3 separate regions of the Homo sapiens genome follow, and regions 2 and 3 are each linked to region 1. Evidence: promoter capture Hi-C in 16 types of primary human blood cells and fetal thymus (Javierre and others, 2016). All regions are on one chromosome and are shown on one strand. The core of a region is centred on a gene start or on the middle of the fragment in contact, and the rest is flanking DNA. Distances in the headings are between cores, read along the strand shown.

Region 1 (3,180 bases), core at 416-2,915:
AGGGAATGCTGAGGCTGGTTTTATCTTTTATTCAGGCCACTAAAACTTTTTCCATATCAGCATGAGGCTGTTTCGTTTTCTTATCATTTGTGTTTTCATTGGAGTAGCACTTTTAATTCCCTTCTAGAACTTTTCCTTTGCATTCACAACTTAGCTAACTTTGGTACAAGAGGCCTAGCTTTTGGCTTATCTCAGCTTTTGACATGGCTTCCTCACTAAATTCCTTCGGTTTTCGATTTAAAGTGAGAGATGTGCCACCCTTCCTTTTACTTGAACACTTAATAGTCCATTGTAGGGTTATTAATTGGCCTAATTTCAATATTGTTGTGTCTCAAAGAATAGGGAGGCCTGAAGAGAGGAAGAGAGACAGGCGCCAATAGTGAAGCTTTCAGAACACACACAACATTTATTAAGTTTAGCATCTTCTATGAGCAGAGTTTGTAATGCTCCCAAAAAACTACAATAGTAACATCAAAGATAACTAATCATAGATCACCATAACAGATGAACAGCAAGTGAACACATGCTGCTTGAAAAATGATGCTGACAGACTTGCTTGAGTAAGGTTGCCAAAAAACTTCAATTTATAGGAAAACATATTATCTGCAAAGTACAATAAAGGGAAGCAAAATAAAAGGAGGCGGGGATTTGCTTATGGAAACAGCTTCGTATCTGTGATAAAGGAATATACTAAGTAAAATATGGACTACCCTGGACTGTCTAACACAACTACAACCGATATTCACTTGGACAAGAACTTAGTTCAAGTGCTTCTGTGGTCACACAACCCAAAAGGCCTCCACAGCAGAAAAGCTGCTATTAGGTACTCACTAACTAAGTACTGAGTCCCCAGTGTTTCCTGAGGGTTATTTCACAGGCTCCTGACCCTGAAGCCTCTCAGAGTTATTCCAACATTAAGGTCACTTCTATGAGGAAGAGGTGAGAGGAAAAAAGACCAATAGTGGAAGGCCAGCTTCAGCGCAACACATGTATTTAATAGTTTCTCTCATCTTTGAATATTTATTCACATTTCCCTTTAAAGTCTGTTTTTGAGGGGGAGAAGCTTTATTCGTACCTACTTAGTGGCTGCTTTATAGCAGTAAAATAGATGCTTTTGCAGAATTCTTTTCTGCTTTTCTTTTGTGAGACGGAGTCTCATTCTATCACCCAGTGGGGAGATGTCGGCTTACTCAATCTCTGCCTCGCAGGTTCAAGCATTCTCCTGCTTCAGCCTCCCGAGCAGCTGGGACTACAGGCGGGTACTACAGGCGCGCACCACAACGCCCGGCTAATTTTTGTATTTTTAGTAGAGACGGGGTTTCGCTATCTTGGCCAGGCTGTTCTCCAACTCCTGACCTCAGGAAATCCGCCCGCCTCGGCCTCCCAAAGTGGTGGGATTACAGGCGTGAGCCACCGCTCCTGGCCCCTGCCTTTTTATTAGAGATACAAATCACACACGCCCTTCGCTTCAAGGGGAGCCCCGCCCCCTACTTCGGGCATTCGGCCATCCTGTGTTCTCTAATGGCGTGGGGCAGAGCTATCGCGAGACTCCACTGTATCCTCAGCAAGTTTTTAACAGTGTGAACTTGCGCAGAAGAGACTCATGAAGCCAGCGCAGGAGAAAGGGGGCGGGGTGCTCTGACGAGCGCGTTCGCCTTGACCCCACGCTACAGCGCGCGCCCGGCAGCTAGGCGCTGTGGTTTCTGGGTCTCCCGGGGGACCCCTACACGTTCCGGCAAAAAGCGCTCGTGCCCACCTCAAGCCCATGTTCGGTGGGTGGCGAATGCGTGCCCGTGATCTGCTGGGTCTGTAGAGGAGCGCAGGCCTGGTGCAAACAGACTCAAGAGGCTCGGAGAACCAGCTTGGGTAGGCGCTTGGGTGATGGAAGGTCAGGGGTCAGAGGTCGGGAGGGAGGGAGGGAGGTGGTCTTTGGCCTCCGGGACCAGGGAGGGAGGACGCTGGTTGTCCTGGAGCCCGGGAAGCTCAAGGGCTGAGAGGGAGCCGCTGCGCGAGTCTTCCCCACCTCTTCCCGATCCCGGACTAGCGAACTTCGGACCACCACGTCCCTCCGGGGATAAAGTGGGGTCGTGGGAAAGGAGGCTGTGCTTCTCCTCATGCACTGGGGCCTGCGGTGTTTGTCTCGAGCGTCCAACACACTAGGATCCGGGAGTCCGTCGTCACGCTCCTTGGCCTCGCGGTCGCTTGTTTGCTCGGCCTGCTGGGAGCGATCCGGCGCTGACAGCCCCGCTCAGACTCCGGGAGCCGCTTGTGGGTCTTTCGGAAGATAACTGAGTGGGTACCGTGCGCCGCAGATCTACCCCCGGAGGCTGGAACTGGGTCGCCGCCTCCCTTCTTTGTGCGCGGCATTGTATTAGTAAAAGGGGAGGCAGAGGTTTCTCAGTCCCACTCAAAGTTCTCCGTTACCTTTGGAGCCAGATTAATTACATTCGAATTCAGAACCACTCTTTGACATTGTACAGTTTGACTGGTAGTTGCTATGTTTATGAACGAAGATAGGGTGTTATTTGATGATTAATAGTCACTGTATAATGATCAGTTAAATAATGACCAGGAAGCTTGTGCCCTTTTTCCAAGTAGTTTGACATTAGCACGAGGTAGAAATCCGAGATGTTTGATGCCTTCCAACTTGTACTTAAGGAACTTAAGGAACTTGGGGCTTTTTCTGAACAAAATAAGATAAAGTTATTACTGTTACTTTAAATTATTCCAGTGGGCATTAGTAGGAATGATGAAACTCTTGAATAGAAACGATCCATGATATCTCTACTGTCACAAAAAAGACTATTTAGTTTATGATTAGTAAACATGCTGGAGACAGAGCAGTCCTGAGCAGTATTGTAATGATTATGTCTGTGCTCGATAACCTGCACTTTCTAGAGCTTTAAAGGACCAGTTAACCAGTAAGCTGGCAATTGAGAATAAAATAGTTTACTTTTGAGAGATGCTCTTGTATATCCTCTTTGTCCACCCGAAAGGAGCTGGACTTACAGAATTATTAAAACAAAACTTTTATTATTAAGAGTTTAGGCCAGTAAGATTTAGGGGAAACAATTTGCTGGTGAAAAAGCTTCTTATGAGGGCATTTTTAAAGTTTATGTAACTAGCATATTTTAGCATTCAGTAGAAGAAAATACTCTCACCTTGCTGGAATTATTTCTA
Region 2 (3,180 bases), core at 221-2,720, about 60 Mb after region 1:
TCCAAAAGTGCTCTAATTACAGACATAAGCCACCACACCCGGCCTACTTTGCTTCTTATATCCTTTTGTACTGTATTGTTTGTTTTACTATTTACTATGAGCAATATGCAAATTTATGTAAGACATTACAAAGTAATACAAAAACCGACAAAATGCCCGGCCCAGTCAATACTTCATCATATAGGTTCCTGTTAGAGAAAAGTGCTTTTCACTACTATCTTTGAATGTGAAGTTTGATCTTCATTCTAATTTTCTAAAAAGCCACCGAATGTATTTGTTCATTCATTCATTCATTTAACCATTACCGACAACCTACTTAATGCTAGGCACTGTTCTAAGAAAAAATAAACAGCAGAGCACGAAATCAGATGTGTTGCTCCCACACTCTAGCAGAATCGGACCGTAATCAAATGCACACATAAACAACTTTAATAAGTAGTGCTTTGAAATATAGAAGTGAAGAACGACCTGAATTTTCAAATACTGAAATGTTCAAATGTCGTGTGCACACACACACACGCAGACATATTCACTCGAACATGCTAATTAATCAAAGCACTGCTTTTGAATTTTGTGTTTGTCGTCTGGATAAAGTATTCAGGGATACTTCTCAAATTAATCTTTCTCTCGTTTTCAATATAACTAATTGAGTACAAAGAAGTTAAAAATTAGCAAAGCATTTCAGCTGTGTGACCTTAGGCAAATTACCTGGCTGTTTTAAGCCTCAGTTTTCTCCTCTGCGAAATGGAGTATTGAACCTCACGTTCGCTGTTTGAGGGAGACTTGTATGGTCACGTTTAGTGTAACCGGATGCCTGGCACGAGGAAGCGTGAGGAGGAATGGATCCCCATGGGGCCTTGATGCCCGCCCTGAGGCCCTGCAGGGCCGCACGCCGGGGCTGTTCTCACGTGGCGCTTTCCGCTTTTTCACCCAAGCGTTTCTGCCAGCCAACTGCCCTTTCCCGGAGTGCTGCGGCCAGGGCTCGCCCGCTCCTCCGGCGGCCTCCGCTGGGGGCCCACTACAGCCCAGCGCCAGCCAGCCAGCCAGCCCAGCTTCTCGAATCGGTCCTAAGCTGAGGCCGCCCTGCGCTGCAAAACTTGTGTCCACTCTCGGACCCAATCTGTCCTGGACGGACTTGGCTCGTGGCAGGCGAAAGCGTCGTTTCCAACTGCAGCTGTTTGAATTCTGGCGCCACACCCGCGCCACGTAGGGCCAAGTCGGCCGCCAGACTCGTAAGAGACGCTTCGCAGTGCGCCTGCGGGCGCGCGCCGGGAAATGGCCGGGCGCGCGGCCGGCCTGCGGCGCGCTCCACAACGCGGAACGGGCCTCAGAAGAGCCACCGCGCGCGCTCCCGCTAATTCGCGACCACACCCCTGTCTACTTCCATGTCCAATAGGTGCGAGAGGGCGGGACGGCCTCGTTCTGACTCCGGGAGGCTATATAAGGAGCTACTGGCTGCGCACTTCGGTCTTTTACGTCGGCCTTCGCGAGCGTCTGGGCGGGTGGTAGGTGAGTGGGTATTGCGGGCTAGTATCCGAGCAAAAGATGGTGGCGCAGGCCGAGTTAAGAGCTTTAATCCTGTGAAGACATCTTAGTGAAGAGTTTAGAGTGCTGAGAGTTGAAAGCTTGCACGTGGGAAACGTGCGGCCGGACTGCCACATGTACTGAGGTTGAGTCGTGACGGCCACAGGCTCCGAGTTTTGGCGTGAGGAACCGCTGATCGGCCACGGGCGCCGAACTTGCTGGCCTCCGGCATGTGCCTGAGCGGCGGCGGAAAAACCACCTTAATTGGGGCGGAGGGTTAGTTTTAACAGCAAAGGGCCTTTACTAAAATGGCGAAGGCCTTCCGTCGGCGTTGTTTTAAAATGGGAAGCCTCGACCCTGTATTGAAACTGAGCTGTTCGAAGGCGGCGTTGTGTGCAATTCGGATTAATGAAGGGGAAGGGTTTTGTGTGGAAAAACGCCTTGGAGTGTGACATTTCTGCGAGAATGCTTAAATACCGATTTCCCGCAGGAACAATGGCGCTGTCTTCAGTGGCACAGTGGAGCAGCTCTGAAGATGCAAAGGTAAGAGCTTAGTTAAGCTTAGTTTCCAAACTAAAGGAGTAAACCTGTTGATTTACAGGAATAGGAACTGTTGCATCGTTTGAAATTTACTTTTTTTTGTTAGATACACGAAAAAACTTCCAGAACATCTGGGAGAATATTTAATGGAAAATCGCTTGGTTAAAACCTGACACTTTTAACAGGTATGTGTTGTTTTAGTACTTTATGATTGAGCATAGCATTTAATCCACACCTAGACTAAATCAAATTTTTTTTGTCAGTGAACAGCGTTCTGAGTGTGGACGAGTAGCCAGTGAAGATAATGAATGTCGAATGTGACTGACTAGCAGCTTCATTTTGAAGTAGGTTGTATGGCTTAAAAGTTCTGTAGTATTTGTACTATAATACTTGCCTTTTAGCATTACCTTGGTTTGTAGTCAGTGTCACAGAAGTGCAGTTTAATGTATTATGTGTACATATACAAGGTCTGATTGGTCTAATCAATGATGAAACCTATCCCGAAGCTGATAACCTGAAGAAAAATAAGTACGGATTCGGCTTCTGAGATTAAGACCAGTAATTCAGAGGTGGAGTAAATTTTGTTGCCGTGATTTTATAACAGTTGTGTTATAAAATCCTGGGTTTTTTTTTTTTCTGCCAACAGTGAGGGTCGCTGTCTGCCCATTGATAGAGGCCAGATTGTCTTGGAAGTTCCAAAGTTGCAACGATTTCTGTAAGTGGAGTTTTTCTGTTTGCTTAGAGATCAGTGAATATTGTGTCCTTGGTCTTATCTGTGATGATCTTATCCCGAACCTGAACTTCTGTTGAAAAAAAAAAACTTTTACGGATCTGGCTTCTGAGATGGACCGTTATAAGGACAATATTTTTTTTTAATACTTTTAATGCTTTTACATATGTTGTAATGTTTGTAGTCTTGTAAGAATCTCGTGTTTTTCCTTTTCTAGGGCTAGTGCCACGAGGTTTACTTGACTGTTGTGTGAAAAGCTGATAAGAAAACCATCCAGAAAAAAGCTCTTCGTTTTACAAACATGAAAATAAAACATGTAATTTTGGATTATGTTCCTTTTTGTTATTACTTTTAAATAGGTCCTGAAATAACATGGGGAGCATTAA
Region 3 (3,180 bases), core at 375-2,874, about 28 Mb after region 1:
CCAAAGGACTTTATTGCTTCATGCTAACCAGTCTGCCATGCAGTACAAAGACTGCAATAATAAAATTGTGATTTCTTGCTCCTCAGTTGCCTTGCATCAGCGAAGGGCACACAATGCAGGCTTTGGGTTGTGATTAACCGTAAGGGTCTGCCCCAAGAACAGATAACAGCAGACTGCACTCAGCTAAATATGCTTCTAGGTAATGCAGGAGTTTCCACCAGCCTACTCTAATCACACAGGTTTCTCTTTCCCTTTCTAGGACTGTCTACCCTTGAACTGGAAGTAGGCAGAATGTAAAGAGAGGAGTTGCTGGATACTTTTAAAGGCACTGAAAAATTCAAGTTAAAGTTATAGTTGAGGGGTAGTAGCCTCACTAGCCTATCTTGAGTAAGGGTCATGTCTCATTCATTTTTGTGTCTTCAATGTCGCAACAGAGCTCTGCATTCAATATATTTGTAAATATATGAATTCACAATTTTGATTTTCTGAAATGTCACGTGTGAGGACACTACCAGTTTTCAAATAAATACACCTTTTAAAGTACAGTTATGTGCCAAATAACAAGGCTTCAGCAATGAATGGATCGCATAAACTATGGTGATCCTATAAGAGTATATGACTGTACCTTTTCTATGTTTAGATATGTTTAAGTACACAAATAGTTACCACTGTGTTATAATCGCCTACCGTATCCAGAATGGCAACATGCTGTACAGGTTTACAGCCTAAGAGCAATAGGCTACATCATATAGCCTGGGTGTGTAGTAGGCTATACTATCTAGGTTTGTGTTTAAATACACTCTAGGATGTTCCCTAAGGGATGATTAACCTAAGGACACATTCCTAAGAACATATCCCCATCTTAAGTGAAGCACTACTGTAGTTGCTTTTGAAATGTGTGACCTATGGTGTATTAAGAGGAATACCGTGTGCCAAGAAGTGACGCTAAGCGTTTTACCTTACAACTGAGTTAAGTAAAATTTGGAAACTTGGTTTCGAGGTTAATACATGAAAGGCGACACAGGTAGTATGTGACAGAGGGTAAGAATTGAATCCAGGTCTACCTGACTCTTAATCACAAGACAAAAAGTCTTCTATTAATTCCGCAAAATCTGGTCAGCCGCTTCAATGCGCAGCTTTAGGCAGTCCACACCTGGAATTTGGGGTCTGGTTTACCAAGAACAGCCAGTGTGTACACCCACTCCATCCTATCCAGGAACTGGAATCGAGAAGGTAAAAACGTGGCTATTGCGCATGCTCACACCGCCCTTCCTTGCTCTCCCCTCCCTGACCCTAGATGCCACCGCAGCAACTTTCTGGGAGGATTTTGGAACGGCTCCCGCCAACTGTTAAGTCAAACCGGCGGAAATCCTTCCTTTCTGCGACGTGGACACCTTTCTCATCCTCGGGCCTTTCCAACCAGGGTGCAGAAACCACGCGCCTCCGTTTCTCAGGGATTCAAGCCGTAGTTTGCCAGTTGTTAATATGGCCGCTGACAGGCCGCTCCCAAGCTGAGGCCTTTCATAGGCCAAGATCGCATCCTGTCCCCGCCTATTTTGTCCCTCGTGGCTGCGTCCGCCCAGCTCTTCGCTACGCATGCGCAGCGGGGGCAGGCTGGGAGGTGGGACTGACTGAGTCTTCCGTGTGTCGCCGCCGTTGCCGCCTCAGCTTCAGCCTCGTTACTCCTGCGGTTCTGTGACTGTGCTGCTGGCGTTAACGGCGCGAGGTGAAGGGAGGTGACGGAGTGTGCCCGCGCGCGCGGGGGTCCCCTCAGTCCCAGCAGTTCCCTTCGTGCGCGGGGGGCGGCGAGGGTCTTCAGCAGTCGGGAGAGGCCCTTGACGGCGCCATGTCGGCGGGCGGTCCATGCCCAGCAGCAGCCGGAGGGGGCCCAGGGGGCGCCTCCTGCTCCGTGGGGGCCCCTGGCGGGGTATCCATGTTCCGGTGGCTGGAGGTGCTGGAGAAGGAGTTCGACAAAGCTTTTGTGGATGTGGATCTGCTCCTGGGAGAGATCGATCCAGACCAAGCGGACATCACTTATGAGGGGCGACAGAAGATGACCAGCCTGAGCTCCTGCTTTGCACAGCTTTGCCACAAAGCCCAGTCTGTGTCTCAAATCAACCACAAGCTGGAGGTGAGCCGTGGGTGCTGGCGGCTATGGCATCCAACCCCAGGCTGCCCGGTGGCGTCAGATGCCATTTAACGCTCCAGTGAAACGACCCTAGAAAACTGCCCACCGGGGCTTCAAATGTGATGGGAGAGTGCATGTCTGAGGAGTGAGGTGAGGGTGGGGGACAAAAAGGGCCCTAGACCGACGTGTGAGTTCCCGGGGTACTGTCGTCCACCTTCCTAGTATCTCTCTGAGGAGGAAACTAATTACATACACCAGCCTCCATTGCACATGTTACATTAACAAACCTAACAAAGATTCTCTGTCATGAAAATACCGTAGGCCACCTTTTGACAACTGAGTTTTGCAGATCTGCTTTCACATTGATAAACCGAATTTGTATATGTTAAGACAGATACAGCACTGATTATTTTCATTTTAATTATTCCAGGTCAGCGCCTATGATTGCATACAGAGACATGCATAAACTATTTAGGGGAATCTGATCAAAGCTCTTAGGAAAATTTCGTGGTGCATAACGATAGTATCACTGTCTCGGTTTACATCCATAGTTGGTTGTTAAATTACAGGCAGATACCTCCAGAGAGCTCCCTGCAATTATTGAAATTACTTCTGACCTTGAGTTTTTATATGCTTGTACATTACTGTGTAATTTTCCAAAGTCTGGATTTATTTTTGAGAGAGTGTAAAGAATCATTTGCTTTAATCTCTGATCCTGGGTGTGGGTGAGGGTGGAGTGGCTGTGGTTCAAAAAAACAAAAATATCATATTGTGCAGAAAATTTAAAAAGGACATTATTAAAATATTTAGAAATCAAGATAGATTAACATTATTGCATAAAGAGTACTTTCTAACTAGGCAATTTAAGAGAATGGGTCTTTCTTTTCAAAAAGTGTAATAGATAAAAATGGGATAATCAGTGATGTGCAAAACTCTGAACATGCTTTCCTAAGAAATCATCATTACTCGTTGTCATTGACAGTGCCCATTATATCTATATCAATATGAATGTCAGTTAAACATCCTCTCCTTGCCTAGTGGTCAGCATTCTT

Evidence for each region. Contacts are between HindIII fragments. The CHiCAGO score rates a contact against its expected background, and 5 or more counts as called.
Region 2: a contact is called between the fragment with the promoter of SNHG5 here and the fragment with the promoter of SHPRH in region 1, in 1 of 17 cell types (naive B cells). The highest score is 7.7, in naive B cells.
Region 3: the fragment with the promoter of GOPC here is called in contact with the fragment with the promoter of SHPRH in region 1 in 4 of 17 cell types (total B cells, activated CD4 T cells, total CD4 T cells and 1 more); the score reaches 14.6 in total B cells.

What each region holds. Positions count from the first base shown.
Region 1 is chr6:145,962,843-145,966,022 of GRCh38, reverse strand. SHPRH (SNF2 histone linker PHD RING helicase) reads left to right here and starts at 1,665. Exons shown (of 30, transcript NM_001042683.3): 1 at 1,665-2,292. RefSeq lists enhancers at 1,189-1,238, 790-1,777, 1,689-1,908, 2,019-2,148. The HindIII fragment of the contact is 1,513 bases long and covers 1,066-2,578 here.
Region 2 is chr6:85,677,023-85,680,202 of GRCh38, reverse strand. It overlaps SNHG5 (small nucleolar RNA host gene 5), which reads left to right and starts at 1,470. Exons shown (of 6, transcript NR_003038.2): 1 at 1,470-1,509; 2 at 2,015-2,067; 3 at 2,171-2,249; 4 at 2,328-2,408; 5 at 2,711-2,779; 6 at 3,012-3,180. SNORD50B (small nucleolar RNA, C/D box 50B) reads left to right here and starts at 2,544; the gene lies at 2,544-2,614. SNORD50A (small nucleolar RNA, C/D box 50A) reads left to right here and starts at 2,835; the gene lies at 2,835-2,909. RefSeq lists enhancers at 1,500-1,659, 1,830-1,889. The HindIII fragment of the contact is 13,479 bases long and covers 1-1,627 here.
Region 3 is chr6:117,600,955-117,604,134 of GRCh38, reverse strand. It overlaps GOPC (golgi associated PDZ and coiled-coil motif containing), which reads left to right and starts at 1,624. Exons shown (of 9, transcript NM_020399.4): 1 at 1,624-2,131. The coding sequence starts at 1,847. It also overlaps the pseudogene NEPNP. RefSeq lists enhancers at 1,233-1,522, 1,653-1,742. The HindIII fragment of the contact is 3,398 bases long and covers 1-1,978 here.